4 separate regions of the Homo sapiens genome follow, and regions 2, 3 and 4 are each linked to region 1. The links are contacts of gene promoters, found by promoter capture Hi-C in blood cells and fetal thymus (Javierre and others, 2016). All regions are on one chromosome and are shown on one strand. The core of a region is centred on a gene start or on the middle of the fragment in contact, and the rest is flanking DNA. Distances in the headings are between cores, read along the strand shown.

Region 1 (7,829 bases), core at 3,335-5,834:
ACATTTAGAGTTCCGGACTCTTAGAGTCTAACTACTTACCATGTACTAGGCACAATTGCTAATTGAATGCATTATATCAATTTAATTCCTGCAACAACCTAATGTAAGTACTATTCTTTTTTTTTTCTTTTTTTTTGTTCGTTTGTTTGTTGGAGATGGAGTTTCACTCTTGTTGCCCAGGCTGGAGTGCAGTGGCGCGATCTTGGCTCACTGCAACCTCCGCCTCCTGGGTTCAAGTGATTCTCCTGCCTCAGTCTCCCAAGTGGCTGGGACTATAGGCGCCTGCCACCATACCCGGCTAATTTTTGAATTTTTGAGTAGAGATGGGGTTTCACCATTTTGGCCAGGCTGGTCTCGAACTCCTGACCTCAGGTGATTCGCCCACTTCGGCCTCCCAAAGTGCTGGGATTATAGGTGTGAGCCACTGCGCCTGGCCGGTTAGTACTATTCCTACATCCAATTTACAGATGAGAAAACGGAAGCTTGTAAAGAGATTAAAACTTGCCCAAGAAAATAGAGTAATAAGTTACTGCAGAGCTTGAATTTGAACCCAGGCCTCTCTAACTCCAAAGCTCAAGTTCATAATTATTTGACCTTGGAGCAAAATTTAAATAAATTTCATAAAAAATCCTTTCATCCTCAATTATGTAAATTGAAAAATATTGCAGATAGAAAGAGAAACCCAGAACTTTGAGTCCCCCATTATCTTTCAATTTCACTCTAAGAAGTGCATCTGTCATTGGGTTTCTCAATATCAGCTCTGCTGATGTTTTGGGCTGGATAATTGTTTGCTTGTATGGGGGAGGGGAGATTGTACTGTGCACTGTAGGATGTTTAGCCGCATCCCTGGCCTCTGCCCACTAGATGCCAGCATCACTGCCCCCCTCCTCAAGTTATGACAACCAGAAACATTTCTGGTTGACGCTGCCAAATGTTCACAGAAAAGAACCACTATATTAGATGATGATACTTTATTTCTGTCTTCTAAGTATGTGCAAACCCTGGTGTTTGTGGAAAGGTGATTTATTTAAAATAAGTTTACTTGGTTTAGTCAAAATAAGTTTACTTAGAAATAAATCTTGTAGAGTACAGCCCAGCATTAGCCAGCTGTATTAGTTTGCTAGGACTGTCATAACAAAGTACCACGTACTGAGTGGCTTAAACAACAGAAATTTATTTTCTCATTGTTCTGGAGACTGAAAGTCTAAAATCAAGCGTCAACAGGGTTGGCCTCTCTCCTGGGCTTATAGATGGCTACCTTCTTGTTCACGTGGTGTTCTCCCTCTATGCCTGTGGCCTAATAATATCTTCTTGTAAGGACACCAGTCAGATAAGGGTCCACACTAATGACCTCATTTCAATTTAATCACGTCTTTGAAGAACTTATGTCCAAATACAGTCACATTGAGTTACTGGGGATTAGAACGTGAACATACGAATTTTGGGGGGGACACAATTCAGCCCATTAACATTGAGCTTAAGTCTTTTCTCCCCTCCCTCCCTTCCTTTCTGTGTGTATTGAACACCTATTATGTGCCAGACATTCAGCTAAGTGGGGGTAATGGTAAGCAACAAACATGGTCTCTGCCCGGTAAGGTTTACAGTGAGGTAGGACAGACAGACTTAAAGAGTAATAACAAGTGCCATGCAAATATTATGCTTTGGTAATGGATGCCAGGAAAGCCTTGCCCTTCCCATCAGGCTCCCAACCCGGCTGGGCGAGTGAAAGGACTGCGTTATGAGCTAACCGGCTGGGCACGGTGGCTGACGCCTGTAATCCCAGCACTTTGGGAGGCCGAGGTGGGCGCGAGTTGAGGTCACGAGTTCGAGACCAGCCTGGCCAACATGGTGAAACCCCGTCTCAACTAAAAGTACTAAAATTACCTGGGCATGGTGGCACATGCCTGTAATCCCAGCTACTCGGGAGGCTGAGGCAGGAGAATCGCTTGAGCCCGGGAGGCGGAGGTTGTAGTGAGCCGTGATCGCGCCACTGCACTCCAGCCTGGGCGATAGAGCAAGACTCCATCTTAATAAAAAAATTAAAATATTGGCCGGGCGCGGTGGCTCACGCCTGTAATCCCAGCACTTTGGGAGGCCGAGACGGATGGATCACGTGGTCAGGAGTTCAAGACCAGCCTAGCCAAGATGCTGAAACCCCGTCTCTACTAAAAACACAAAAATTAGACGGGCGTGGCGGCACGTGCCTGTAATCCCGGCTACTCCGGAGGCCGAGGCAGGAGAATCGCTTGAACCCGGGCGGCAGAGGTTGCAGTGAGCCGAGATCGCGCCACTGCACTCCAGCCTGGGCGACTCTAGAGCAAGACTCCGTCTCAAAAAATAAAATAAAAATAAAAATATACATATTTTTTAAAAACTGAGCTAACCACGAGGTTAACGAGTCAGCCACTTGTGAAACCGGGAGACGCGCGTTTGCTACAAAGCAGCAGAGGTCTGGTCTTAACCAGCAGCAAGCGCCACCTCAACCCGCCCTTTTCTATGACGCAGAGTCTCTCCCCCTCCCTCCCTGACTCCGCCTTTTCCCTGCTTGAGGCCCTGCCCCTCGCGTCCTCTCTGGCTTGCTGCGCACCCTCCCACAACGCGTCTCCCTCGGCTCTAACAATAGGAGTCAGTCGGCCACGCCTGCGTCATAAAGCCTGGGGGCGGGCCCAGCCGGCGACGGGAGGCGGGGAAAAGCGACGCAAAGAGTCGCGGCGCCATTTGCTGCCGCCGAGCGTGGACGCAGGCGGATCTCTGAAGAGCTGGGTCGCCAGCCTCTCCCGCGCACGTTGCCTGGCCTCCAGCACCTACTTGGTCCCGCGCGCTCCCTCGTGTCGCCCCTCGGAGCAGCAGCCGCCGCGGTCGCCGCTACCCGGAAAGAAGTCAGAGACGCCGCGAGGTCGCCGCCACCGCCATGCCCAAGAATAAAGGTAATGCCGCCCGGACCCCCGGACCACGGCTCTGCTCGGCCGGGTCTCCCAGGTCCTGCCCGTAGATTGCAGGTCACCCAGGCCGCAGTGACCCTTTTTCCTTCCCGCCCTGCCTGCCCGCGGCTGGGCGCCCCACACGCGACTCTGAGCTCGGGAGAGGAGCTGGGAAGTTAACTCCTGTTGCCCAGTTTGGTCACATTGGGGTGGAGCCGGCGCCATTTTTGTAGGGCCTCCTGCGGGAGAATGTGGGCTTTTGCTCCTGATTCGCGCCAGACTGACCGCTGCTCGGTGGGGACGGTGGCGGGAACCTTCCCCGGGGCGGCCTAGGTTTAGTAGATAGGCCCCTTTGGCCTTCCCGGGCATGAGGGGTTATAATCCCTGGAAGCCGTTCTGAACTTTCAGAGTGCTGTCTGCATTCGTGAGCACCAGGTACTCCTGCATGGGTTTCTTTATGGACAGTTCAGTATTGTTGAGGCTACTCGCTGTCCCTTGTGAACAGTGGGTGAAACCTTGATACATTTCTAAGGCTCACCTCTAGAGATTTACTCTCTCCATCCCTTTACAGGATATAGCTTATGTTTGTTTGCTGAAGACTTATTCCATATTGAGCCAAGTTTTCTACTTTTGCTTCAGATGATGCATATGTTGTGAGAATAAAGACCTAATTTAAGTGTCCTCCATTCTGAGGCTAAGCGTTCACAAATGATCAGACTTGAGGATAACTTTATTTGGGATTTCCAAAACGGAAGGCCTAATCTTAAAAAAAAAAAAACAAAAACAAAAAACAGAACACTCCTAAAGAAATTACTTTTATAGATTTACAGTGTTCCTGTCATTTTTAATAGCCGTATAACTTGAAGAAAATTGTGCAAGTAAATATAGGGAAAATACTGTATTTTCCTACAGGAGAGGAGCATACTTCATAGTCCGTAAGTAGTCTCCTTTGATTATTCATTCTAGAGGAAACCCTCCCCTGACACAGGCCTACTTCTGCTCTCTTTTCTACTTGACAGCTGGCTCCAGGGATTCTACCACATTTCCTCTTTGTAGCTGTCACTTATTACTTTATCCCTTAGGGTACTTGGTCGAGGTGTTCTGTGCACAAGTTGGTGCAGTCACTGCTCATTATTTTGGAAAAGATGGAGTTATAAACAAAAAATTTTAAAGTCTTACAGTTTTCTTCTGTATAATCCTTTATTCTCTCTGAGGTGGTAAGGGGATCACTTCCATCTTATTCTCACCTTTATTTCTAGTAATAAGATTTCCAATTCTTCCACCAGGCTGTAAGCTCTACAAGGCAGGAATAGTATCTGTCTTAATCTCATTGGATTGCCAGCACTTGACAATTAGTAGATGCTTAATAAATATTTGTTGGTTTAAGTCACCTACCTCCTGTCGACTCCACCCTTAGTGAATAATAGGTTCTGCTTTGGTTCCAAGGGGATAGGACTTCTACACTAAATCACATCTAGTTCCCTAGCCTCATGTCTTAAGAAAGAGCCTCTCTGGGAATTTCTCCAAAACAACTCTGGTTTAAAGAATGTTGATGTCACTTTAATTGTTGTACACTCAGACCTAGTCTCATTCATTCAACAGAGAATTTAAAGAACATCCCATTACATGGCAATAAAATACAAAGGGGAGTGATCCGGGTATGGTTAATTCTGGTAAATTGACAAGTAATTAGTCTTTTCTTAAATAACATTTGAGGCATACAAAAAATACAGCTAACATGATATACCTGGGAACCCATTACTCTGAATTTAAGAATTACAGCGCAGATTGAGGTAAAGCCCTAATCACCTTTTACTCTCTTTTTGGAGGTAATCACCAGGCTGAGTTTGGTGTTTATCATTCCTGTACTGTCTGAAACCAATCAGTTCTTAGTTATCTTACTTAGAGGAATGGTACTTTTCATGACCTAATTTAAGTGTCCTCCATTTTTTTTTGCTGCTTCCAAGCTCTTCCCATGAGTCTCTTAGGGTCATTACCACTTACAGCCTTTTTCCTGCCTTTTGGAAATGGCTGCCAATGTGGTTTCCTTTCTGGAATGGGAGCAAAATGCTGTGGAGAGGTAAGCTTATGTGGGGGCTAGGGGCAAAAAAAACATTGTGACTTTGGTCACCCCAGCTTACTGACTGTAATCAGTGAACTGATTTACTCACTGAAGCTAAGCGACTTACTTAACTTCTCTGAGCTTCAGGGAACTCATGGGTAAACTGGGAATAAATGAATGTTATGACCTCATGGGGTGATTGTGACAAGTAAATGGGCAGAATTATTGCATAGTGGTTAAGAGCATGGTCACTGGGGTCATATAATAGAAACAGGGATGTTGAGTAGGGACCAGCATTATAAAAGAAAGTAAATTGGGTACCGAACAGATCTTCTTTATTTTTTAAGAGACAGTGTCTCGCTATGTTGCCCAGGCTAGCCTGGAACCTCCTGGGCTTGCTCAAGTGATCCTCCCACCTGAGCCTCCTGAGTAGCTGAGACCCTAGGCGCACACCACTGCACCCAGTGAGATTTCAATATTTATGGTACTCTGCTACCAAAAGTTTGAAAACCACAGTTCTCTGTCCAGACACTGTCTTCACTTAATTTTGAAAGTATCGGGTTCCTTGCATAGGGCCTGGCTTTAGAAGACACCCAAGATTTCCGCTTAGAAGAATATGTATAGAATTGCATTTTTATTTCAAAAGGATGGGTGCTAAAGTGAAATGTTTTTCTATATTTTTTAACATAATATCTGCTATTTATGTGTATTTTATGTCAGAAAAATCCCCAAAGGAAATTCCAAGAAGGGTAGGGAGGTGATAATGTGTTAATGTTGGGATTGGAGATTGTAAATTTAATATGATTGTGTAGCTAAAATAGATGAATTTTTTAATTTAAGTGATCTTTTAAAAAATGGTTTTATAAGCCTTAATTTCATTTTATTTCATACTGTTTTACAGATAATTAATGTCATTTACCTCCTTTTCTTTTTTTTAAACCATCAGGTAAAGGAGGTAAAAACAGACGCAGGGGTAAGAATGAGAATGAATCTGAAAAAAGAGAACTGGTATTCAAAGAGGATGGTCAGGGTAAGTGTTTTCATAAATTACGCTTTTTAAAATAACATCCTTTCTTTTTTAGCTGGGGACTTTATTTTTTTGAGACAGCGTCTTGCCCATCGCCCAGGGTGAAGTGTGGTGGCACGATTACAGCCCACTGCAGCCATGACCTCCTGGGCTGAAGCAGTCCTTCCACTTCAGCCTCCCGAGTATTTGGGACTACAGGCACACACCACCACGTCTGGCTAATTTTAAAAATTTTTTTAGGCTGGGCGCAGTGGCTCACGTCTGTAATCCCAGCACTTTGGGAGGCCAAGGCGGGCGGATCACGAGGTCAGGAGTTCGAGACCAGCCTGACCAACATGATGAAACCCCGTCTCTACTAAAATTACAAAAATTAGCTGGGTGTGGTGGCACGTGCCTGTAATCCCAGCTACTCAGGAGGCTGAGGCAGGAGAATTGTTTGAACCTGGGAGGCGGAGGTTGCAGTGAGCCGAGATCACACCACTGCACTCCAGCCTGGGTGACAGAGGGAGACTCTGTCTCAAAAAAAAAAAAAAAAAAAAAAAAAAAACTGTATAGAGATGAGGTCTTCATATGTTGCCCTGGCTATTCTCGAACTCCTGGGCTCAAGTGATTCTCCCACCATGACCTCCCAAAGTACTGGGAACTAAGAATGTGTCGTATAGTTCAGAGGGAATTGAGCTATGGTTGACAGTTCTGTGATTTAGTTGGCAGTTCTATGATTAGCATTTCTGGTAGTGAATGGTACATATAATATGTTGAGTAGACCATGGACATTTGAAGGATGAGCCTGAGGCCCTTATAGACCTCTCCATTCTCCAGTGCCATTAGCATATAACTTCGTAAACTACAATAAAATGAAACTGAACAGTTAACTGATTTTATTAGACTGAAGAATATTGTAAGTGCCAGACCAAGATACATAGCACTAGTCAAATAAATCCTAACTGGATCGTTTGCCCTTTCCTGTTACTTTTATTTCGAGTCATTTCAAACCTACAGAAAGTTGCAGTATTAGTGCAACAAACTCCCTTAAATCCTTCATCTGTACACACACATATAAAGAAATATATATGTGGGATTTTTTAATTTTTTTTTTGAGATGGAGTCTCGCTCTGTCGCCCAGGCTGGAGTGCAGTGGCGCGATCTCGGCTCACTACAAGCTCCACCTCCCGGGTTCACGCCATTCTCCTGCCTCAGCCTCCCAAGTAGCTGGGACTACAGGCACCCGCCACCATGCCTGGGTATTTTTTTTGTATTTTTAGTAGAGACGGGGTTTCACTGTGTTAGCCAGGATGGGTCTCGATCTCCTAACCTCGTGATCCACCCGTCTCGGCCTCCGAAAGTGCTGGGATTACAGGCGTGAGCCACCGCACCTAGCCCCATATGTAGGATTTCTTCAGGACCATTTGAAATTTAGAGACATCATGTTACTTTTCCCTTACTTGATCATGTATCTTCTAAGTGCAAGTATATTTTCTTATATAACTAGAAGAGAATTATCACACTCAGGTAATTTGACATTGATATAATATCTAGTATATACTCCATATTTCCTCAGGTATTCCAATTATTTCCAGTACTTTAGCTTTTAATAGAACTTTGGGTGGATTTATTACGCCATACATATAAACCAGTAAACATGAGATACGTTTTCTGGCTAAAAGTCCTTTGGTTTCTTAGCCTTGGTCATCCTTGCCTCTAAAATAGCAGCTGACTTGACTTGGGCATACACTGTTTTATTATTACTTTTTCCCTCACTTCAGAAGAAAGGCTGCCTTTGAGTTGACCAACCATGTTGAGGTGGTAGATGGGTGCTAAA
Region 2 (7,829 bases), core at 3,166-5,665, 460 kb after region 1:
GTACGCGGTTACCACAGCAACACACCCAGAGCCCTCGCGCTTGTGGCTGCCGATGACGTCTACTGTGGTATACTTCTGAGCATTGTAGCCTTGCTTAGGAGTTGATAAATACTGTGGAATTTTCCAAATTATAATAAGCTACTCTCGTGCTGTGCTTAAGGCATGTTTGTTAATTCGATTTAGTGCTGAAATTTTTGCTTTGACATTTGTGCCAGCAGATTTGGGGGACGGGGTATTGGCAACCTCTCTAATTCAGGTTTATGGGTGGCTTTTAAGTGTTGTTGTTTTTTTTTCTTTCTTTTTTTTTTTTTTTGGTGGGATAACATTTTAAAGGTTGCATCATCTTCTGCAGCTGTAGGACATCCACCCCTCCACCCGCCCTCAGCAACCTTGCCCAGTGTCATCATGCATTAGAAGCAGAATCTGAAAAGGAAACTTTTCGAACACTGAATCCCTCTAGAGATGAGTCAGGCAGAAAGGGCAGATACCTAGAAATTAAAAACCGTTTCATTTAAACTTTTTTTTTCAATGTTGAAGTTTCTTTGAGTCAGCATTGTTCCTTTCAGCAATCAATATATGATATTTTTCAAGATCTGAAAACTAGTGTCCCAGCTCTTGAGCTCACTTCTGTTGCATATGGTCACATTCAGATTCCTGTGAACATTTACAAAAGAGCAAGTCCCCATCTTGGAAAGGAACACTGGATGCAGTTTTTCTTCTTTTATTCAAGTGGTTGAAGTGAAAACGACCATTGACTCAGTCAGCAAACAGTTCATTCCTTTTGTTTGTTTTATGATTCCTGGCCTTTATCTTCTTTGTGTAGGAGGACTGTGTGTGTGTGTGTGTGTGTGTGTGTGTGTGTGTGTGTGTGTGTATGACTCTTATTATTGCTATTAATATTAGTTTTAGCTGCCAATAATAAATTGAGTTACTGTTGATAGCAATGTCAATGTCAAATATAATACTTGAAAGTTTTTATCTCAGCACATTTCTTTCCTGAACCTCAGAGCTGTATGTCCAACTGCCTGCTTACTTCAGTATCTCCACTTGAAGATCTTAAATTCATATCCGTTTGCCTAAACCTGAACTCATCGTCCTCCTCCAACTGCTCTACCCACAGCTTTCCCCATCTCAGTTGAAGGCAGCGCCATCTCCCACTCCTATCGCTCAGGACAGAAACCCTCAGGTTGTCCCTGGCTCTTTCTCTCAGCTCTGCCTCCTAAATATGTCCATCATCCACCTAGGTCTCATCACTTCCACTGCTCCTTAATAGGGATTTCTGCCTCTCCCCATCCCCCTGGAGTTTAGTCTTAAGAGCGAAGCCAGGGAGAACCTTTGAAAACCCAAGTCACATCATGCTACTCATCTGCTCACACCCCTACCAAGGCTTTCCTGAGAAAAAAAGTGAGACCCGACCCTCGTTACTGCTGGGACTTCCTCCCCCACTGCTCTCCCTTCACTTTCTTCGTTCTGGGTCCTTGCTCTTCCTCAGACATGCCATGCACACTCCTACAGGGGGCATTTGCTGCAATGGTCTCCTCAGCCTGGGCCACTCTGCATCTACCTGCCCACTTGGCTGCCTCCCTTTCCTCCCTGCTATCTTAGCAGAAACCTCACCCCATCCCCCTTCCTGGTACTAAATATTTTGTTCTCTGTGGCACATACCATCTTCTAACAGATTTATTTTTGTTATATATGTCACTTATTTTGTTTGCTAATCTATTCTATGTGCTTAGAACAGTGCATGGCACATTGTAGGTGCTCAATAAATATTGTTGAATGAATAATATTAAAATATAAATGCTGCACTTTAGAGATTACAGACATCTCTAGAATGAGAGTATTGGGTGAGATAATATAGCACTTGTGTAGTTGAAAATATATCAATTGTATAGTTCACTGCACCTCTGTGAAGCAGATAGTTCATTTATTGCATTGATATTGGTGCCATGAAGTGTTAACTTCATCAGACACATATATGTGTGTGCGCAAGTGCGTTGAACATCCCTAATCCAAAATCCAAAATGCTACAAAATCGAAACTTATTGGGCACCAATATGATTCTCAAAGTAAATGTTCATCGGAGCATTTTGGATTTCGGATTTTTGGATTAGGGATGCTCAACCTGGATGCATTCTGCTGATACTCCACAATGCAAAAAGAAAAAAAAAAATCTGAAATCCAAAACACTTCTGGTCCCAAGCATTTCAGATAGGGATATTTGACATTTGTGTGTGTGTACGCATTCGTGTATGCATCTTGATTCCTGATTTGTCTGCAGAATGAAACCATGTGCTGGAAGCTCCCTAAACCCATTTCTCATGTGGAGCCTCTGGGGAAAACATAAACTTCCTAGCCTGCTTTCTGGGTGTGGACAATTTTTACAACATCTAAGAGGATTTGAAACTATCTCCACCCCATGTTGTTGGCGCCATGGATAGTTGCATAGATTTATGGATCTATCATGTTATTGTACAACCTGGCACAAAAGCCGATAAGTGTGATTCTGTTTTATTAGCATACAACCTGGTTTTCATCACTTTTGAGATGGTTATGTGTCTAAGATTTATGTCTAAGGAAGAAAGCTTCCTTTGAGAATTGAGCTCACTGTTTTCATTTTTAGAAGTGTAAATTGGATCTTGCGTGATAGCATTCAGTAGGTGAGGCTCAAGTAGGTCTGCTCAGGCTGCGACAGTTGGCCTTCTGAAATGTCTGGCTTGATAACTTGGATGAGGGAAAAAGGGAATCTGACCATTATTAACAGCTGTGAGCATCATATTATACTTTTCGTTCAGGTTTGTGAAGTTTTTTTTTTTTTTTTTTTTTTGAAACAAGAGTCTTGCTCTGTTGCCTAGGCTGGAGTGCAGTGGCACAATCTTGGCTCACAGCAACCTCTGCCTCCCAGGTTCAAGTGATTCTCATGCCTCAGTCTCCTAAGTAGCTGGGATTACAGGTGCACACCACCACACCCAGCTTAATTTTTTTTTGTATTTTTAGTAGAGACGGGGTTTCACCACGTTGACCAGGCTGGTCTTGAACTCCTGACCTCAAGTGATCCGCCCACCTTGGCCTCCCAAAGTGCTGGGATTACAGGTTTGAGCCACCATACCTGGCCAAGTTTGTGAAATATTAAGATCCACTTGTCTGAGTCAGTAGATAATCTTGTGCTTATCTTATATTTTAATCTATATTACCCTACCCAGAGTTAATGATTAGATTATACACCAGGAGAGATATTGTATAACATCCCTCCACCAACTGTGAATAGATAAATAGTTCATGTAGGTATTCTTGTTTCTCTTATCAGGCTATAAGGAAGGATTCCGTTTATGAATCTTTTAAATACCACCAAGTGGATATGTCTCCGAATGATTTGCTGAATGTACCATTTAACTGAAATATTTACAGCTGAGTTGATTTAATGTCTGGGACTTGCTTCCTATAGTCCAGAAGATGAAAGAGTGGGGCATAGAGGAGACATTGATCATGAGTTGGTATTTGTTGAAACTGGATGGTGTATACATGGGGGTTCATCACACTCTATTTTTGTGTATGTTGGAAATTTCCCTTGATAAAAGGTTAAAGGGGGGTGGGGAAGAACCTTGGAGAAACATGTACCATTTAAACCAAGCTCAGATGTAAGTATGTGCTGTATCAAAATAATGGAAAATGCTATATGGCTATAGATGAACCAGGTTACACCTTAGAAAATCATAGGGCCATAGTACCTTCATCCTAGCTGATTGACCTCGATGAAGTTGGCCTCAGCTGGGCCATCTGTAAAATGGGAATACTTTTTTTTACCTATCTTACCTCACAGGACTTAAAAAATATATACCTGAAAATACTTTCTAAATATGACTCATTTCAACTAGCATGTATTGAGTGCTCACTAAATATGCTCAGTACTGAGGATACAGTCGTGAGGGAGACCAGGTCACTGCCCTCAGGGAGCTACAGAAAAGTAAATAAACAATAATAATAGAGTATAGGAAATGCCATAATCAGGCTGAGAACACAGTGTTGTGCTGTAGGAGCCCTCAGGCATGGCAGGAAGTGGTAAGTTGTTAGGGAGGCTGGAAGGTGTGTGTCCGTTCATGTGTGTGTGTACCAGCTTCCTACAGGAAGTGATGTTTAGGCTGAAAACCATGGGTCCAGTAGGCGTAGAGTTATTAAGGTAGGGAGAGCAATATCTATAAATGCCCTGAAGAGGGAAAGAGATAGCACAGATGATGTGTAGAGGCTCCAGCAGGAAGCGGGGAAAGAAGCAGGGCCCAGATCATGAAGAGTCTTGTGAGACTCGTTAGGGAGTTGGACTTGATCTTGAGAGCAATGGGAAACTATCAAAGTGTTTTAAGCAAGAGAGTGACACGATCAGATAGGTGGTTTAGCGAAAGTATTCCAACTGCAGTGTGGGGAGTGGATTACAGAAGACAGGGTGAGTAAAATTCAGAAGAGAGGTAACAGAAACATACTGGCTTTCCTGATAAATAGCCCCCCACTCCAAATCTAGGTTCTAAACCAGTTAATTAATTAGATGAGTGAGTGAATGGATAATCAAAATATTTTGCTGATTTTTTTTTCATTATAGATATCCAGTTGACCCAGCACTGTTTATTGAAAAGATTATCCTTTCTACACTGCACAGCCCTATCACCTTAGTCATAACCTAAGTGGCTATATATAAGTGGGCCTATTTCTGGACTCTGTTCTGTTGGTCTTTTTTTCCTTGTGCCCATTCTATGCTGCCTATGTATTCCTCTTCAAGATTACCTAAGCTGTTCTTGGCCCTTTGCATTTTAATTTAAATTTTAGAATCAGTTTGTCAATCCCCCATCATCATAAAAAAAAAAAAAAACCTCCTGGAATTTTGATTGAGATTGCATTGAATCTATAGACACTTTTGATGACAATTGGTACCTTTCTAATTCATGAACATGGTATATCCCTCTATTTGTATAGATTATGTTTTATTTTGTGAAATGTTCTCAAGCTGAACACTTATGATTTGTGATCTCTCTGTGCATACGTTTTATTTCAGTGTCATTACTGATGAAGGCAAAGTTGGAAGGTATAGATTAGTGTGAGAGGCAAATGGGCCTGCCAGCTGATTCCCAGAATTAGACAGATTTGCCCACACAATCTCAGCAACATTGGACTAACTCAGGCCAATGTGAGATAGAAAGACCTGCCCCTTGAGGAACAGCAGAGAAGGCTGACTTCCAAGAGGAGGAAAGAGAAGAGCTAAGCTGAGCACGCCCAGTATATTTTTCTTAAATTCACCTATCAGATAAGTAATTTCACTCTCCCAGGGAAGGAAACATAAAGGGGAAGAGAACGGCAGGAGTGTCTAATTGTGTCCAGAGAGTGTCCATTTGAATTTCTTTACATAGAAGGGGACATCAAGGTAAGGGATGTATTAACAGCTTGAACTATTGTCATGGAGAGAAATGGATGGTTTGGGGAAATATTTTGAAGATAGAATCAAGTTTGATAGTATGTGGGGGATAAAGAAGAGGGAGGACTTGAAGATTGTGCCTTCGGCAACTGGCTTAAGCAGCTGAGTACTATTTTCTGATTAGAAAACAGTGGAGAGAGAAGATATTTGGGGAGGAAGGACATGGGTTAGACTAGCTGGATTTGGAAGTTCTTGTGGGACTGTATCAAGTAGAGACATCCAGCAGGCAGATGGATACATAAGTCTGGTGATTGGGAGAGAACTGTAAATGTAGGTTTCAGAGTCATCAGCCTAGAGATTGGGCTGGAAGACTCTGAGCAAGAAGGCAAGCCCAGACGAGACTGTATTCTCATGAATACAGGTGGTACCTCTGTCTCCCACCTGTGGACCTGAGAGGGAATTTCTTCATCAGGCTATTTTCCTGTGACCCCAGTCTGGCCCTACTCTCTGTTTCTAAACTCCTTCCCTTTTTATGAGTCACTTAGATGATCACTTCTGACCAACCACTTAGGGAAAGGAGTGTCAGGTATTACACATGGATAGGTAAGTTACAGATACTCGAGTGAGTCTCAGGACCTAACCTGACATGGCTTTATATAGAATAATGCTGGGTTTTTGGTGCCAGCTCATTCCGTGTCCTAGCTCTTTAGGCACTACCAGTCTTGGCCCACTTAATTATTGGAAAAAGTAGTCTTTTTTGCCTTACTGGAAAGATTTCTAAACTGAATGGTTTGCCAGGTTGGTTGTTTACTGGATTCCCTGCGGAGAAATCTTTCAAGAAGCTTCTTTCCCATGGTCTTCCTGTCTTAGCTGATTTCCGTTAGTGACTTCTGACATCTCTCTCTTGAATTCTGTCTACACTTTCTACAAGGCGTTGTGTTTGTAACAGCCTCTTTTTCAACTCTTGTCATCTTGAATCTCATTTATAGAATTATAGTCACCCAAATTAATGCCTTTATGGTATCCACATTGTAGCTTTTACTTGGGACAGATAATTAGAATTAAAATTGTGTATAAATGAGAGTGACTAATCAAGTTTTTAATTAGCCAAATTACAGTAAGAGAATTTAAGTATTTTCATACGTATCTCAGGTAGTCTTTTTTTTTGTATTTAATTTTTGTGGGTACATAATAGGTGTATTTATGTGGCACATGAGATGTTTTGATACAGGCATGCACTGTGAAATAAGCACATCATGGAGAATGGGGTATCCATCCCCTCAAGCATTTATCCGTTGAGTTATAAACAATAAAATTATACTCTTTAAGTTATTTTAAAATGTGCAATTATTATTGACTATAGTAATCCTGTTGTGCTACCAAACAGTAGGTCTTATTCATTCTTTCTATTTTTTATGTACGCATTAACCATCCCCGCCTCCCACCCAGCCCCCACCCAGGTAGTCTTTTTATCCATTCTAGTAAAAATTTATTAAGCTGCATAATCATATAAAATTAAAACATGTCAATAAGGTGATGATCTTAGTTCCTTAAAAATGAGAGATCTATGTCCTAATCCTTTGAAGACTAGAAATAAGCTCTAGAGAACTCCAGAAGCTAATGAGATATATACTCTTTGACTAATTAAACACAAGGGTCAAAACCTTGTTGTGATTATCTGAGACCTAGAGTATTGGCTGTCCCTCGTTTTGGTTGAAAAATAAGATTGTGTCTCTTGAGTTGTTGGAAAACCTGTGGTTTTTAATGAGCAGATGGTATTAAGATGCCCACTGGTTGCCTGGGTTGAATGAAGTGTTTGGGATTTTCAGACTTTGGCTTCTCTCTCCTCAGAGTGTCTCAGTTTTGTTTCCTGATCTGGAAAAAGTAAGGAAGGAGGAGGGGAGTTGGTAGGGAAAGGGAAACAGAAACAGTGAACCAGTATTACAGGATTATTCTTTGTCATGTTGGGTGCTGCTTTCTGTTTTATATATGTTTGATGTGAACTTTCTAAAACACTCAGCCTAGCGTATTTTCTAAGAAATATTTAGTTGCAGCCAGATTGTCACCAAGAATCATATTCCCAGAAGGTTTTCAAATTGTGTTAAGAGTATAGTGGTTGGCCGGGTGTGGTGGCTCACGCCTATAATCCCAGCCAAGGCAGGTGGATCATGAGTTCAGGAAATGGAGACCATCCTGGCTAACACTGTGAAACCCAGTCTCTACTAAAAATTCAAAAAATTAGCTGGGCATGGTAGCATGCGCCTGTAGTCCCAGCTACTTGGAAGCCTGAGGCAGGAGAATCGCTTGAACCCGGGAGGTGGAGGTTGCAATGAGCTGAGATTGCGCCACTGTACTCCAGCCTGGGCGACAGAGCGAGACTCTGGAAAAAAAAAAAAAAAAGTATAGTGGTTATTAAACATGGAGGACAGAT
Region 3 (7,829 bases), core at 2,181-4,680, 310 kb before region 1:
TAAATTCATAAAGTGGCAGAGCTGAATTTCATGCATCTGTCTGATTCCACAGCTCATGCGCTTCATCACCATGCTATGAAGTTCAAGATGAAGATAGAATCATATTGTGACCGGAATTTTTCAGTGATGTGTTTCCCACAATCCTTCCTCATATGGATTTGTATCTAGAGAGAAAGCAACAAAAACCAAGACCTCAAAAAACTGAGGACCCAAAACCTTGTGGAAGGCCACAACTCTTGATCTTTTCACAGTTACCCTGTCTATCAAACAAGTGGCATTTTCATTCCCAATTATTAGTGTCTCTTCATTGTTTCTGAATACAGCTCACGTCAGAAGTGAACCCAAAATAGCTTTCAGTCAGCTCCATTCCATTAGATACTGAAAATACTCAGTCTTTTATTCTCATTAGGACAGAAATAAAGCCAAAAAATATGATCCAAAACATACATTACTGTTGCCTAGGTGAAAAATGCCTGAGTTAAATGATTATTAGCTGCCTGCACCAGCTGAAAACCAGAAAGCTCGGCTGAAAATGCACCAATATTTTTACTCAGTTGCCTCTTTGGCTCACCTGCAAAACCCAGAGACAAGCCTTCATCATTACCATGAGGTACATCTGGAAAAAGACAGCTAAGGAGCAAGTCAAAGTTACCTTTGAGTGATTAACAACTGAGATGTGAATGTGGTGTTCCAATAATCTAAATATCGTGTGAGAATTCTGGGCTTTTGAGTTACTACTATTTAAGTGTGTAAATTACAAGTAAACTTCTTTTGTAAGAATCCTAAACTGATGAAAGTGGTTTTGTTTTTGTTTTGTTTTGTTCTGGGAGGGAGGTTTTTTTTGTTTCAGTTCTAGAGCCCGGTAAGGTAGAGAGATTAGTCACATCCTGAAGCTAGAAACATTTGGGTTTCCTTCTTTAATTTTTTCTTTACGAATTTAATACATATCTTATTGACCTGAAGTTCCCAAGGCTGCTCTATTTTGTTGTCAGCTTCTTTTCTGTGTCTCACATCCACTGTTAAATCGGTCCCTAGGTCAGGGGAGTGGGCAGGCCCTAGGGAGAAGAGGGGATTGTGGGTGATGCTAGAATCAGTCCTTATCCATTTTACATTATCTTTCTTTTCACTTACATAGAGGTTTACAGTTCCAAATCTATTATTCCATTTGATTTTCACAATACTTACAAAAGAGGCAGAAAAGGCATTATTGTGGTGGTCCCTCGTGAGAAAAGAACTTGTTTTGAGGTTCCAGCAAGCAAGCATCAGGACTCAGATAACCTTGCCCAAAGAAAAGGAAGACTCCATTGCACCCGTAGGCTTAGGGAGGGATGGATATAAGGAGAAAAGGAACACCCACTTAGCCAGTCAGATCAGTGGAAACAATCCTGGCAACCAGTTCAGTAACAGATGCTCCAGCCAGATGGCCCTCTCCTTCATTTTACACATGAGGAAACTGAGGCCCATTCACTCAACAAATTCACTAGACAAACATTTATTGAACACTGTACTTGGGATACTGTATCTAGAGTTGCATTCTTACAAGGGAATTAGACAATAACCAATAGATAATTGCTCTGAAGAAAAAGCAGGGTAAGCAAAGAGGGGGACAGGGGTGCTATTTTAGATAGAGCAGTCAAGGGAGTCTTCTCCAAGATGCCACTCAAGCAGATACCTGAATGCAATGAAGGAGTCAGCCCATGGATACTCAGGACAAGAATATTCTGGGTAGATGGAGCAGCAAGTGCCAAGATTCTGAGGCAAGAACATATTTGGAGAGTTAAGCAGCAGGGAGGCCAGTGTGGCTGAGGCGGGGAGAAGGAAGGGAAGAGTGGAAGGAGATGAAGTCAGTCACATAGTGGGGATGGGCAGGCTGCGGGCAGGGGAGATTACATAGGGACTTGGAGGCCATGATATGAGTTCTCAATTTCATTTAAAATACTACGTGAAACCAGGCCGGGTGCGGTGGCTCACACCTGTAATCCCAGCACTTTGGGAGGCCGAGGTGGGCGGATCACAGGGTCAGGAGATTGAGACCACCCTGGTTAACATGGTGAAACCCCGTTTCTACTAAAAATACAAAAAATTAGCCCGGCGCGGTGGCAGACACCTGTAGTCCCAGCTACTCAGGAGGCTGAGGCAGGAGAATGGTGTGAACCCGGGAGGCAGAGCTTGCAGTGAGCCAAGATCGCACCACTGCACTCCAGCCTGGGCGACAGAGCGAGACTCCGTCTCAAAAAAAAAAAAAATACTACATGAAACCTTTGTAGATTTTAGACAAGGCAGTGACATAATCGAACTGTTTGTAAAGGATCAGCCCACCTACTGTGTTGAGAAAAGACTGTAAACAAAGCAAAAGTAAAAGCAGGGATAATGGTCCAGGCAAGAGAAGATAATGAAAAGCAGAGAGATGATGGTAGCTTGGACCAGTGGATTATGGTGAGAAGACATCAGAATTCAAATATTTTTCTAAGAGAGAGCTGAGAGGATTCCCGAAAAATTGGATTTAGAAGTATGAGAGAAAGAGAGTAATCAGGGGTGACTCCAGTTTGTGACCTGAATAGTTGAGTGGATTATAGTCCCATTAACTTAGATCAGGCGTCAGCCGACTTTTCTGTAAAAGGCCAGATGGTAAGTATCTTTGACTTTACAGCCCACACAATCTCTACTGTAACTACTCAACTCTGCTATTGTAGTACAAAAACAGCCACAGATAAAAAGCAAATGGATGGGCATGGCCGTGTTCGAATAAAACTTTATTTACAAAAACAGGTAGTTTGCCTACACCTGGCTTAGATGAAAAAGCCTGCAGGATATTCAAGATGGGGTGTAGGTGGCCTATGGCAGATTGTGTTTCCAAAGATGGCCACAACAATATACTACATGCTTTTTTGTAATATGACTTTGCCATGCCCTCTTCAATTGAAGAGGTAGAGTCTATTTGCCCTTCCTTTGAATCTAGGCTGGCCTTTTGACTTACTCGGCCCATGAAATGAGGCAGAAGTAGGGCTGTATGCCTTCCAAGAGTAGGTTATAAGAAGCCGTGAAGCTTCTGCCTTTATCTCTAGAATGCTCATACTTGAGAACCTAGTTATCATGCTGCAAGGAAGCTGAAGCACCCAGCGAAGAGGGCTGCAAGGAGAATGATTGAGAACTCTAGCCGAGAGTCCTAGCTGAGCTCACAGCCAATAGCCAGCATCAAGTGGCCAGTGTATGAATGAGCCATCTTGGAAGTAGTACCCCCAGCTGCATTAGCCACCTTAGCTGATGCCATATAGAACAAAGATGAGATGTCTTCATAAAGCCCTACCCAACTTTATTATATATATATAGATAGATAGATAGATAGAGAGAGAGAGAGACAGAGAGAGATGGACGGAGAGAGAGAGAGAGAGAGAGAGAGAGAGACGGACGGAGTTTGGCTCTGTCCCCCAGGCTGGAATGCAGTGGCGTGATCTCAGCTCACTGCAGCCTCCACCTCCCGGGTTCAAGTGATTCTCCTGCCTCAGCCTTCCAAGTAGCTGGGACTACAGGCATGTACCATCATGCTTGGCTAAGTTTTGTATTTTTGGTAGAGATGGGGTTTCGCCATGTTGGCCAGGCTGGTCTCAAACTCCTGACCTCAAGTGATCCACTGGCCTCGGCCTCCCAAAGTGCTGGGATGACAGGCATGAGCCACAGCGCCTGGCTTAAGCCTTACCCAACTTTAAATATTGTAAGCAAATAAATAATTGTTGCTGTGTTAAACCACTAAGTTTTGGGGGGCGGATTTTTACTCAGCAATAGATGCTGAAGTGAGGTGTGTCAGTAAGCTTTCATTAGGTTATGCTGTGATAACAAATGACCCAAAGTCTGAGTGGCTTACAACAACAAACTTTTCTTTCTTGCTCATGTATATGTTGGCTGCAGAACAACATCAGTTACGCTCCATGTCTTTTTTATTCCAGAACCCAGCTGAAGGAACAACTCCTGTCTAGTGGCAAAAGAAAAAGAGCAATTGTAGAACTATGCAATGTGTTTTAAAGGAGATACTCAGACATGGTATATGTCACATTTCCTTAGGCAAAGAAAGTCACATAGGCAAACCAGCCAACAACAAGACAGGGAGATATACTCATTCCATGGGGACGGCCTGCAAGTCAGATGGCAATGGGCAGGAGTATCAAATTCTCTCACAGGGAAAGCAGTGAATAATTGGGAACGACAATACCATCTGCAACTGAGGGAAAATCGAGCGTTCATTTTGGAGATGTTAGATTTGAGGTGCAAATTTGACTGTTTGAGTAGAAGTAATTGGTAAGAGGTTGGATATATGAATCCAGAGTTCAGGAAAGAGGCCTGGAGGCAGATATCATTTGACAATAATGAGCATAGATAGTGTTTAAAATCATGGGACTGATTGAGAGCACCTGGGGTGGGAGATTAGTTAGAAAAGAAATGAAGTCTGAGGACCGGGCTCTGAGGACACTTGATATGGTTTGGCTCTGTGTTTCCACCCAAATCTAATCTCAACTTGCAATCCCCACGTGTCAAGGGAGGGACCTTGTGGAAGGTGATTGGATCATGGGGGCGGCTTTCTACATGCTGTTCTCATGATAGTGAGGGAGTCCTCACAAGATCTGATGGTTTCAAAGTGGCAGTTTCCCCTGCTCGCTCTCTCTCTCTCTGCCACCTTGTGAAGAAGGTGTCTGCTTCTCCTTCACCTTCCATCATGATTGTAAGTTTCCTGAGGCTTCCTTAGCCATGAGGAACTGTGATTAAAGCTTCTTTGTTTATAAATTACCCAGTCTCAGGTAGTATCTTTATAGCAGTGTGCCACTAAAAGGTTTGGAAGAGGAGGAAGAACCAGCAACAGAAGAGGAAACCACCAGTGAGGTAGAAAGAAAACCAGGAGAGTGTGGTGTTACACAAACCAGACAAAAAGATGTTTCAAGAAAGGAGGAGTCAACACCTGAGTCAAAGGTGCTGAGATGACAAGATGAGGCCTATTAACCAATGGATTTGGCAACATCAAAGTTATTGATGACCTCCACGAGATGGTTTCAGTGGAGCAGAGGAGAACAAGGCTAGCCCAAGAGAAACTGTCAAGTGAGGAAGTGAAGACACCAATTATAGACATTACTCTCTCAAGGAATTTTGTAGCAAAGGTGAGTGCAGAAATGGGGAAGTACCTGGAATGAGATGAATGATCAAAAGAAAACCTAGAAAATAGGAAATAAAGTAGCAGGTTTATGTGCTCTTTCAATAAGCACATCACAGTAAGGGATCATTGATAATATAATAAGTGGCTCAGACAGGTTAAGGATTTGCTCATGATCACATAACTGGTATAGAACCAGGATGAGAATTTAGATCTCCTGATCCCCACTCTGGTGTTCATTCTGCTGTTCAGTCTCTCCTAATAATATTGGCCCTACCACCGAGAGTATGTGAGAATCACTGTGCATAAGGCCAGAACTAGTGTAAACATCACTAGGCTCCCAATGGGCACTACCCATTAGGCATCCACAAATTGTAGAAGAGAGGTTCAGCAATGCACACCCCAAAGAGAGGACAAAGAGTCTCCTGTGACACCCCTATCCTAAGCGGTATGTTTGCATGTGCACTTTTATAAGGTGTTCCATCTTGTCCTACTTATATTAACCTTCAGGAAGGTCGCCTCAGTGAACTTGGGACATGCTGTTCTTTTTCAAAGTGAATTTGCAAAATATTGCCAGTTCTTTCTTCCCGAAACAAGAAAGAAGAAAAATATCCTACTGCATTATTTCAATAGCTCTAACAAGACGAAATTTTGGCTTCTACCAGGAATAACAAAAGAGAGAGGGAGAGAGAGATTCTGGCTGCAGTCCCTGTAATAACCTCTAATTAGTGCAATGAATAACAGCCACCATCTCTTCTGTTTCCTCAGACCTTTCTGTCACTTCTCTAAGGGTCATAGAGGTTAGTAGCATCATGCCATCAAGAGGCAGCATCTGATTCTCAGCTGCTATTGGCTTTTATCCTTGTTGTTACCCTCCAACATTTGCATCTGTAGCCAATCGTCCACAACTCTTCATGACTTTCTCATTCTAACCTCAAGGCCCCTTGAATTCTCCCAACCTATGCCTAGCCACTTCCATAATGCTCCCAGGGGTACAGAAAAATCTGGATCTTCTCTGATACCACTGGAAAGCAACAAGAGACTTGAGAGTTGGTCTCATGCCCTTCCTACCTAGACTCTCCTAGATGTGCCCCCACTTCCACTCTAGATGATACATTGTGGGGAGAACTTAGACTTTTTCATCCCTTTTCTGTCCATGCCCAAAAATAAAGCACAAGATTCTCTCTACCCTCAGATCCCCAAACCTATCTGAGGGGTTTATCATGCTCATACCCAGTAGCATGCTGGAGCCAGCTCATACGGGCTTCCTAGAGCAAATTGTGTGCATCTCTTTCCAACTTCACAATCAATGATGTCACACTGGTAACTTGAAACTGGCCATAGTGGGAGTATTTACACCAAAAATTGACGAACTGCAAATTAGGGGATTTTTTTTCCCCTTGAAGAACCATCTTTTAAACATTTGCCAGCACATCACTGCCTGTGCCAACATCTTAACTTGACCGGGACAGGGAGTTGTGCGGGGGTCACTGAGCCCCTTCTTAAGGACACACCAATGTCTAAGCTACTCTCTCTCTCTCTCCTTTCTACCTTCCTCTCACTTGCCAGCCTCTGGAAATGTCAAAGTACAACTCTCATCAGAAATATTTCCCAAATATATTGTTTAAGGCACCTAGCTCTCACCTCCCACACATTCTAACTTAATTGGTCTGGGAACAACCTTGGCATTGGGGATTTGGTACAGGTGTAGCCTTGCCACTGGGGATTTTAAAAGCTGCCAGGCAATTCTAATGTGCAACAAAGTTTGGAAACAAGTGTTTAAGATACTGGCTCTCCACCCTAGTTGCACAATGCATCCTCTGGGAAGTATATATATATATATATGTGAATGTCCACCAAAAATCAATTAAAACTGAGTCTTTGCAGGTGGAGTCCAGACACTGTTAGGCTTTACAACATCCTCAGGTGATTCTAATGCAAGGAGAGGATTGAGAACTACTGGTTTATAGCAGAAATTTTGGCTCTGATAGTGTTAAAACTATGCCAGTAAAGCTCAAAACCTTAAAAATTTATTTAGAAGCTCAAAAGCTGTGAAAAGTCATTTCTTTCTATTTTCCTGCTATAACTACCCTACCTTGGGAGCAATCTGTAGAGAAAGGTTTCACTGCTGCCTGAATGGTGCAAGAAAGAGAAGTAAATGAATTCCTGTGGATGGATCATGCAGGGGTTACCATCTAAATATTACTCCCCTACAAGAATTTAAAACAAAACTATCAAAACTACATTCTCTAGTTTTCTTCAAGAGACAGGGGGAAATGGGGTAATCCCCAGGCTTCTGTCTTTTGTTTTTTAGAGTCTAGTTGGCTTTTCATTCTGTTTTTATTTTTCAGACACTCAGATCACTTTAAGGATCTTGTGGCATTGAGTCTCTACTTTGTAGCCAATTGGTCTCACATTTCAGAAGCTTGTTCCTCTAAAATGCACAATTAAATGCTGTCCCATGCTTTTTACTAAAAACTCCATTAGATACTCTATAACTCTCATGATTTTTGTAATCTTACACCCCAGTGAACCCTCAAATCACTTTTCCCTCCTAGATATTTCCCCTTTCCATTTTGATTTATTCAAGAGTTCATCCAACAGATCCACACGCTCAGTGATGGAGGTGGTGATAGTGGTATTGGTAAAAACACTAAATTAGCCACCAGCTCTATTATTTCACTGTGATATT
Region 4 (7,829 bases), core at 2,440-4,939, 290 kb before region 1:
AAAGTTAAAAATTGGCCACTAGAAATCTGAGGCCGGGAATCACAGGGGACTCTGTTGACTGCTTGAGCTGAACTAATCTGATCAGAACCTGGATAGAACATGAACAAAAATGTTTCTTTCCACTTCTGTCTCTGTGTAGCTTAAAAGTGTCCACCAATTCTTTGCCACTCCTCCCATCAAAAGCTGGAGTCTATTTTCCCTCCCCTTGAATCTGGGCATGCCCTGTGACTTGCTTTGACCCATAGAATATGACAGAAATGACAATGTGCTTGCTCTGAGCCAAGCCTTTGAGCGCCAAGCCTCAGAGAAACCTGGAAGCTTCCACTGTCTGATTATAAGAAGCCTAAATATCCTGAGACCACCATGGTAAGGCCCAGCTAGCCACATAAAGAAGTCACATGGCAAAGAACTGAGACCCGAGCATATGACCCCAAGTGAGCCATCTCAACCAATTCCCAACCATTCAAGCCACCGAAGCCAAGGACCCAGACATTGTGAAGCAGAGGCAAGCCACCCTCACCGTGCCTCTCCAGATACTTGACCTACAAAATCATGAGCAGCTAAAATAGTAGTTGCTTTAAACCACTAAGTTTTAGGGTAGTTTGTTCCACAGCAATAGGTAACCAAAACTCTCTGTGCTGTTCTCTTTCTCCCCATTCTTTCAACTATGAGAAGACATTACAGGGATTTGTAGTCTGACACAGTTGGATTTCATTACAAATCCTATAGTCACAGTACTGACCATGGAAACAAACTAACATTCTGACCCAAAAGATGCAACGTGCCAAACACTCAGACAACTATCTTCCTAGAAACTTCCAACTAAGTATTGTAAGATATCCAATAGTGCATGGGTGTTTTCGAGCTGGAAATAATCAGGTCATTCTTGAACTTGGAAAACCAAATTGCCAGCCTCTGACATCACAAAAGGATTTCTCTTCTCTGGAACCTGCTCTGCAGAAGTTCATCCAGAGGCTGGACCCTCCAAGGGATACACCCTGGCTCCGCCACCTGGTCCTTCTACATGCTGGTCCAGCCTCTGACTAGCATGGATGGGGAGCATCTGGGAATCATTGAGGGGCTAAGGGAAGTGGCAAGCAAGGAGGGTTATGGGTGTGGGTGGGAGCAAAGCCACAGCTGCAGTCTTCAGAGATCATCTGGGTGGGCCCTGAGACTGAGACCCCAACAGGATTTGAACCCAAAGAAATCTGGCTGTTTGACTTCTCAAAGAAGGAGGTAGTCAGTCCCTGTCAACACTGGCCTGAAGCTTCTCCAAATGATGTTTTCCTAGCACACCGAGGTAAAAGTTGCTTGGTTGCCCTAAATCTTGAAGTCGGTCTCTTCCTAACAATCTTTCTGACATGCACGTCTCAAATATTCAGCGTGGTCCAGAAGTTAGAAATCACTGTATCCATCCAGATGAATGTACACAGATGTTTCTGACTTCATTCTCACATGAAAAAAAATAATTGAATTGCTCTTTCCCATTTTGGGATATTTTGACTTAGTTTACTGGGAATTTTTCTGGCTAGTATACAGCTGAAGTTTTGAAACTTCCCAAGAATGATACATTTTAGTTGTTCTGCATAAACAGATGTGACCACCATCTATTCTAGATCTAGACCCTTGCTACTCCAGGAACCAGCAGCATCAGCATCACCTGGGAGCTCATCAGAAAGACAGAATCTCAGGTCTCACCTTAGACCTACTGCATCAGAATCTGCTTTCTAACAAGATCTTCAGGGATTTGTGTGCCTACTACATTTGAGAAGCTCTGATCTGGGGGACCACATCCTTTGGCTGCTGCTCCAGGAACATCCAGCTCCTCCTTCATCCCATACAATTTCTTGAAGATAGAATCATTTTTCAACAAACATAAAGACTGGCTTTGAAAAGCAACCCCAAATAGACAAACTCACTGCCTCATATAGCAAGAACTCAATTAGGTATGGGTAGAAGTTTACCTAGAAGGGTGCATGGTTGAATTATGTCCCCCTAAAATATATATTGAATTCCTAGCCCCAAATTCCTCAGAATATAACCTTATGTGCACACTTAGTTCAATATGACTAGTATCCTTATAAGAAGAGAAGAGATACACAGGGAGAAGACGGCCATGTGATGATGGAGGCGGAGACTGGAGTGATGTACCTACAAGCCAAGGAACGCCAAGGTTTGCCAGCAACCACCAGAAGCTAGGAGGCAGCCAAGGAGGATTCTCCCCTACAGGTTTCAGAGGGAGCATGACCTTGCTGACACCTTGATTTTTAACTTGTAGCCTTCAAAATTGTGAGACAATAAACTGTGGTTTTCAGCCACCCAGTTTGTGATACTTTGCGATGGCAGCCCTAGAAAACTAACATCGATCAGAAAGGGGCTTAATGGACTCATGCTATCTAGAAGAGTCTCCACTCCTTTCTTGGCCCCAAATGAGAGCTGCAGTGTCTCCTGCAAGGGGCCCTTCCTTCATGATTCAGGGCTGAAGAATCTCTAAGCACTATTGCTATCTCTGGTGATAACATCACAGAAACTTTTCCAGCAATAGGAAGCAAACAGAAGTCAAGTATTGAAAAATGCCTCATATACCCCTGCCCCACCCTGTTTTAAGCACTCTGGGAATGGAAGGAAGTGAAAGCACAAATGCTCCTCAGAGCCTAACTCCCTCTTCAGGAACTCAGCCATCAAGCTGGCTGGATTGATGAGGAGGATCCTACAGAAAATATCCCTTATCTGGCCTCTTTTTAGCTCTGTTCCTCTTATTGTAGCAAGGATCTTAGCTGGTTTGGTTTGTTCCATTGAATGCCATGCGGAACTTTCTGCTGTTCTTCAGCAACATCACTGATGCATTGTAACCCTGAACCTCAGGCTGAAAGGGGAAATCCTGCCTGGTGCCCTTTCTCAAGATACCAAATGTATGTTTTTTCATTTTCTCTTATCCCTCCCTGTTGTTTACCAAGCATCATTTCGAAAGATCTCAAAGCCAAAAAGAACCTCAATAAACATCTGGTCCAACTGTCTTACACATGATGAAATGGAGGTCCAGAAAGGTCAAATGCTGGACAGCAAAGCCAACATCAAAAAAAAAAAAAAAAAAAAGGAAGAAAGAAAGAAAAACCCTTAGACCATCCAGCTCCCAGTTTCTGCTAGCTTCATGGCCACAGCACAGTAAATATACTGCCTCTTGACAAGTTTTCATCTGAGGCAAAGTTTAGACCACAACAACAACTTGAGCACAGCCTTTGAAGTTGAACAGACATCAATTTGGGTTCTAAATCTTCCACCTAGATGTTGGGTGACCCTGAGCAACTTAACCTCTTGGTTTCCTCATTCCATGTAGTGGGGACAACACCACCTATCCCAAAGACTGCTGTGATGATTGATAAGATAATCTATGGGAAGTCCCATGTCAGTTGGGATGGCTGGTTTTAGCTCACAAGTAAAAGAGAGACTATTTCTTTTTGTGGCTCCCTCTTGGGGGTGAAGAAACTTTTCCCAGAAGTCCCCTCAGCAGCTTTCTTCAGTCTCATTGGCCAGAGTTGATCACGTGTCCATTTAAGGACAATAGGAATAAACTTAAGTCAATCAGGCATCCCTGAAGAGGTGGATGAGATTAGCTTCCCCCAGGACACATGGCTGAAAAAAAAAATGCACAGTTCTGTTAGAAAATAAGGCAGAATGCATGCTAGATAGGCAAGAAGCTGTGACAATTACAATAAATGTTTTCCATTAATTTCTGACAGTTTTTGTGGCAGCAACTGAGGGATTCTCTTCCTTCCCCCACCATGCCATTTCATTCAAAAGGAGTTTCCTGACATTCCTGCTGTAGCATCCCGCCATTCCTCTGGAAAATATGTCAACTCAGCTATTCATCCCTGGTGACTCACCAAATATGTAAGCTGCCCCAACTCCACGGTTATACCACAAGTAAATATCTGAGGATAAAACCATCCATGTGAATAATGCTTTCAAGTTATAAAGTTCTTAGACGTATTTAATGTGAGCCTCTACATCTAAGGAAAATGAGGATCAGGGAGCAGTGAAGGGACTTGCCCAGGGTTCTTACCTAATAGGTGGCCATGCTATGTCTAGAATGAGACCCCAAATGCAATGTGCTTTCTGCAACTCTGCATTGCCACAAGGAATCCTAAGTAGAAATTTGGCATATATGGCAGTCACCAGCTAAAAAGATAATTGGTGCCAACTGCATTGTGGGGTTCTACAGCCTGAACCCTAGGATACCCTTCTTTCAAGATGCATTCATTTTCTAATCCAAAATATTCCTAGAAATACAGATAGAACTTCTCTTTGTTCAGAGTAGAATGTCCCATTTAGCAAACATTTATATAGCAGTTGCCCTGTGCCAGGCATTATGCAATGTGCTTTACAAGTATTAATTTACTTAATCCCATTTAGTTCTATCTGCTTAGAAGTCCCAATGTCCTGAGGTAATACATGTTTCACAAAAGTCTTGTATGATTTATTTCATTGGCAATCTACCAAAGGATGAGGTCCTGAAACAGTCCAGAGTTCAGGAACGGATCAAACTTTCAGGCAAAAATCTCTTCCATCCTTTGTCCTACTCTTGTACTAGAAACAATCTATGCCCAAATTGCCCAGTCAGAACAAACACATGTAAACAATCACACTGCAGTCTGCAATTACTTAAGGAAAATTCTGGATTGTCCTAAACTTATTATAGGACATAATCCTTTTGTCATTCCTTTTTCTATTTTAGCAGATTATAATCTTCCTTAAAAGGCAAGGGAGCTTTCTGGTTCAAGTTTAGGAGGACCAAAGGGCATTGGTTGGTACTGCTTTCCTGTCAACATTCTTAATCTTCCTGTTGGTATTTTAAAATAACAGGTCAGCCATGAAAATTATAAACGGTACAGTGTAAAAGTCCCTGTGAAGTGCTGCCATTTGCAAGAAGAGGGCTTTCTGACAGTTGAGAAGTTATAATATGCCTCCCTGCTTTTCATGTGACAATAATTACTATCTAAGCTCTGAAGTGTTTATTCCCACAGCCAGGAAGACGACATTTATAACAGGTTCCAGCCATGACCCATTACTCTTTGCAATATAGAATCCCCATTTTTCAGTATGGAAGGATAAGGCCTTCAAAGTGTAAAAAGAGAGCACTTAAGATGTTTTTATTTTTTTCCATTTAACAGTCTGGGATAGCCCTTCTAAGAAGGATACGATCAACAGTCTCACATTCTTGCAAAAACAAGTCACAATTTTATAGACTTGATTAATAAGTACCAGTCGGTGCCCTTTTACCTCTTAGTCTTTTTTCTCTGTCTTTTTGAAATTAAAATTTGCCATAGATATGATAAACCAATAAAAATTACTACTCATACGTTGAGGAACTAGAGGAAATTCTGTTAAATTCTAAGAAATTTTGCTTATTTGAAAACATGGTACATTTTGCTAAAATAAATTGCCTTTGATCAAACAGACGACTGTTACAAATAGGCACTCCTCTATAAAATGCCAAATGAAGAAAATTAAAATTTTCTTCATGCATACTGTCTATGCCAATGCTTCTGATACTTTAGCATGCATAAGAATTTAGCAGGTTGTTAAAACACAGATTCCTACCCAGCCCCGGAGAATATGATTCAGTAGGACTGGTGTGGACCCCAAGGTTCTGCAGCTCTAACAGGCACCCAGTTGCTGATGCTACTGCTGCTGGTCTGGAAACCACCCTTGGAATAGCACTGTTCTATACTAATAGCCTATTCAGTGAAGGCTGAAATCCCACCTTTGGAGATCCCTTTCCTGGGGTAAAGAAATGTGCAAATAAAATTTGCAAACCCATGTTATCGACCAAAGCAACTAAAGCTGTATTATAAATTTGGGTTTCAATTCAATTAAGCAAACTTACTTTGCTGCCTTGTACTGCATCAGCTGTAGACATCAATCTTAACTTTAAGAAGTATTCAATCTATATATGTATATAAATAACAAGGCAAATTATAGCAAGGCTGTGATATGACAAATACCAAAAATAAAGTACAAAAATCCTATGAGGATATCATTTTCAGGGGATATCAAAGTGAAGATAAGTAGTCAGAAAATAGTCAAAGAATGCTTATAGAGAAAGCTTGCAAGATACTTTGCAATTTGCCATAGAGCTTTCATATAATCTCATTTATCCCATAGAAAAGGCCTATGAGGTATATATGACTTTATCTATTTTATAGATGAAGAAACAAAGGCTGAGAGCGCTAAAATAATTTGTCCAAGTTACATTAAAAACAAATGAGTAAGATTTTAAGTGATGAAGCTAAGATGAAAGTCATCCCTGGATGAAGAAAGAGCTGGAGAAGAGAAAGGAAATTATGAGGGTCTGATAGTAACAAGAGTATGAATAGTAAAAAAAAAAATGACATTATTTGCCCACTTAATAATGCCACATACAGTACTAACAACTTAATACACATTACCTCATGTAATCCTAAAAAGGAATCCCATAAAATAAGTATTATTATTATCCCCGTTTACCAAGGAGGAAAACTGAGGCACAGAAAGTTTAAGTAACATGTCCAAGGTCACACAGCTAATAAGTAGCTCTGCCAGAATTGGCACCCAGCTCTCTTAGTGTTTTAGTAGAGAGCAAGGGGTGTACTGGATGACTAGGAAATTTGATGCTACAGGTGAGGGGCAGATAAGATTAGAAAAGGGACTATCTACCTAAGAAGGGTTGAATTTGATATGGTAAGCGAAGGGGAGTTAATGAAAATTTTGTTTTGTTTTATTTTAAATATGAGAGTAAAAAGATCAGAAATCTGTTTCAGAATGATATCTCTGGAAACAGAGTCTAGGATGGTTTACAGGGGGACACAGAAGGCCAAATTTATCAGTTATGACTTCCAGGATTCACCTGAGAGCTGGAGCCAGAAGACTGTGACAAGCCCCAGATAAGTATTGAATCGCAGGAAGGAGGAGAAAGGGCTCCAGAACTGAGATTTTGTTCAAGAGGACACACTGCAGAGAGGCATCATGACCAGCCCTAAGGGTTGGGGACCTCAAGTAGACCTTAGAGAAGCCTAGAATCCTTGGGTTGGTGAGATACTTTACAGTTTGCCATAGAGCATGCATATAATCTCATTTTGTCTTTAGAAGAAGCCTGTGGAATAGATATCACCTGCTCTATTTTGTTTTTCATTTTTTGTTTGTTTGGTTTTGTTTTGAGACAGGGTCTCATTCTGTCACTCAGGCTGGAGGGCAGTGGCGTGATCACTGCTTACTGCAGCCTCTGCCTCCCAGGCGCAATCAATCCTCTCACCTCAGCCTCCTGAGTAGCTGGGACCACAAGTACACACCACCACACTCGGCTAATTTTTGTATTTTTTGTAAAGATGGGGTTTCACCATGTTGCCCAGGCTAGTCTCAAACTCCTGGGCTCAAGTGATCTGCCCACCTCAGCCTCCCAAAGTGGTGAGATTAGAGGCGTGAGCCATCACACCCCCCTGCCCCCCTACTACCCCATTTTGTAGATAAAGAAATGAAGGCTTGGAGGGTGAAAAACAATTTGTCAAAGTTACAAAGCAAGGAAAGCTAGAGCCAAAGAATTAAGTTCAGAGTTTACATTACACTTTCCTGAAAGAAAAAATTGGACATGTTTCACACGTTGGCTGACAGCCCTGATGGTGGTTCCCTGTGGCAGCAGGTCATAGGGCCCTGAAGGCAGTCAGTAAAAAGAGACTTCCAAGATCAAATAAGATGAGATTAAATTGGGTTGTCACCTACAGAACTGCTCAAAGCCTCCAATGTATGTAGGCATTGCAAAGCTATAAAAAAGGAGGCTGTAGTATACATCGTTT

What was found. Contacts are between HindIII fragments. The CHiCAGO score rates a contact against its expected background, and 5 or more counts as called.
Region 2: a fragment that was not itself captured here is called in contact with the fragment with the promoter of EIF1AX-AS1 in region 1 in 2 of 17 cell types (total CD8 T cells and activated CD4 T cells); the score reaches 6.5 in total CD8 T cells.
Region 3: a contact is called between a fragment that was not itself captured here and the fragment with the promoter of EIF1AX-AS1 in region 1, in 1 of 17 cell types (non-activated CD4 T cells). The highest score is 5.8, in non-activated CD4 T cells.
Region 4: a fragment that was not itself captured here is called in contact with the fragment with the promoter of EIF1AX-AS1 in region 1 in 1 of 17 cell types (neutrophils); the score reaches 5.1 in neutrophils.

What each region holds. Positions count from the first base shown.
Region 1 is chrX:20,136,723-20,144,551 of GRCh38, reverse strand. EIF1AX-AS1 (EIF1AX antisense RNA 1) reads right to left here and starts at 4,584. Exons shown (of 2, transcript NR_046592.2): 1 at 4,317-4,584; 2 at 4,108-4,217. EIF1AX (eukaryotic translation initiation factor 1A X-linked) reads left to right here and starts at 2,714. Exons shown (of 7, transcript NM_001412.4): 1 at 2,714-2,927; 2 at 5,930-6,013. The coding sequence starts at 2,912. RefSeq lists enhancers at 2,603-2,652, 2,713-2,982, 3,313-3,472. The HindIII fragment of the contact is 4,524 bases long and covers 485-5,008 here.
Region 2 is chrX:19,675,379-19,683,207 of GRCh38, reverse strand. The region is part of intron 6 of SH3KBP1 (SH3 domain containing kinase binding protein 1); the gene reads left to right. Among named protein-coding and RNA genes, the nearest start is that of MAP3K15, 160 kb to the right of the region's middle. The HindIII fragment of the contact is 3,655 bases long and covers 2,588-6,242 here.
Region 3 is chrX:20,445,711-20,453,539 of GRCh38, reverse strand. It overlaps the pseudogene RN7SKP183. Among named protein-coding and RNA genes, the nearest start is that of RPS6KA3, 180 kb to the right of the region's middle. The HindIII fragment of the contact is 763 bases long and covers 3,049-3,811 here.
Region 4 is chrX:20,428,290-20,436,118 of GRCh38, reverse strand. No RefSeq gene overlaps it. Among named protein-coding and RNA genes, the nearest start is that of RPS6KA3, 170 kb to the right of the region's middle. The HindIII fragment of the contact is 4,839 bases long and covers 1,270-6,108 here.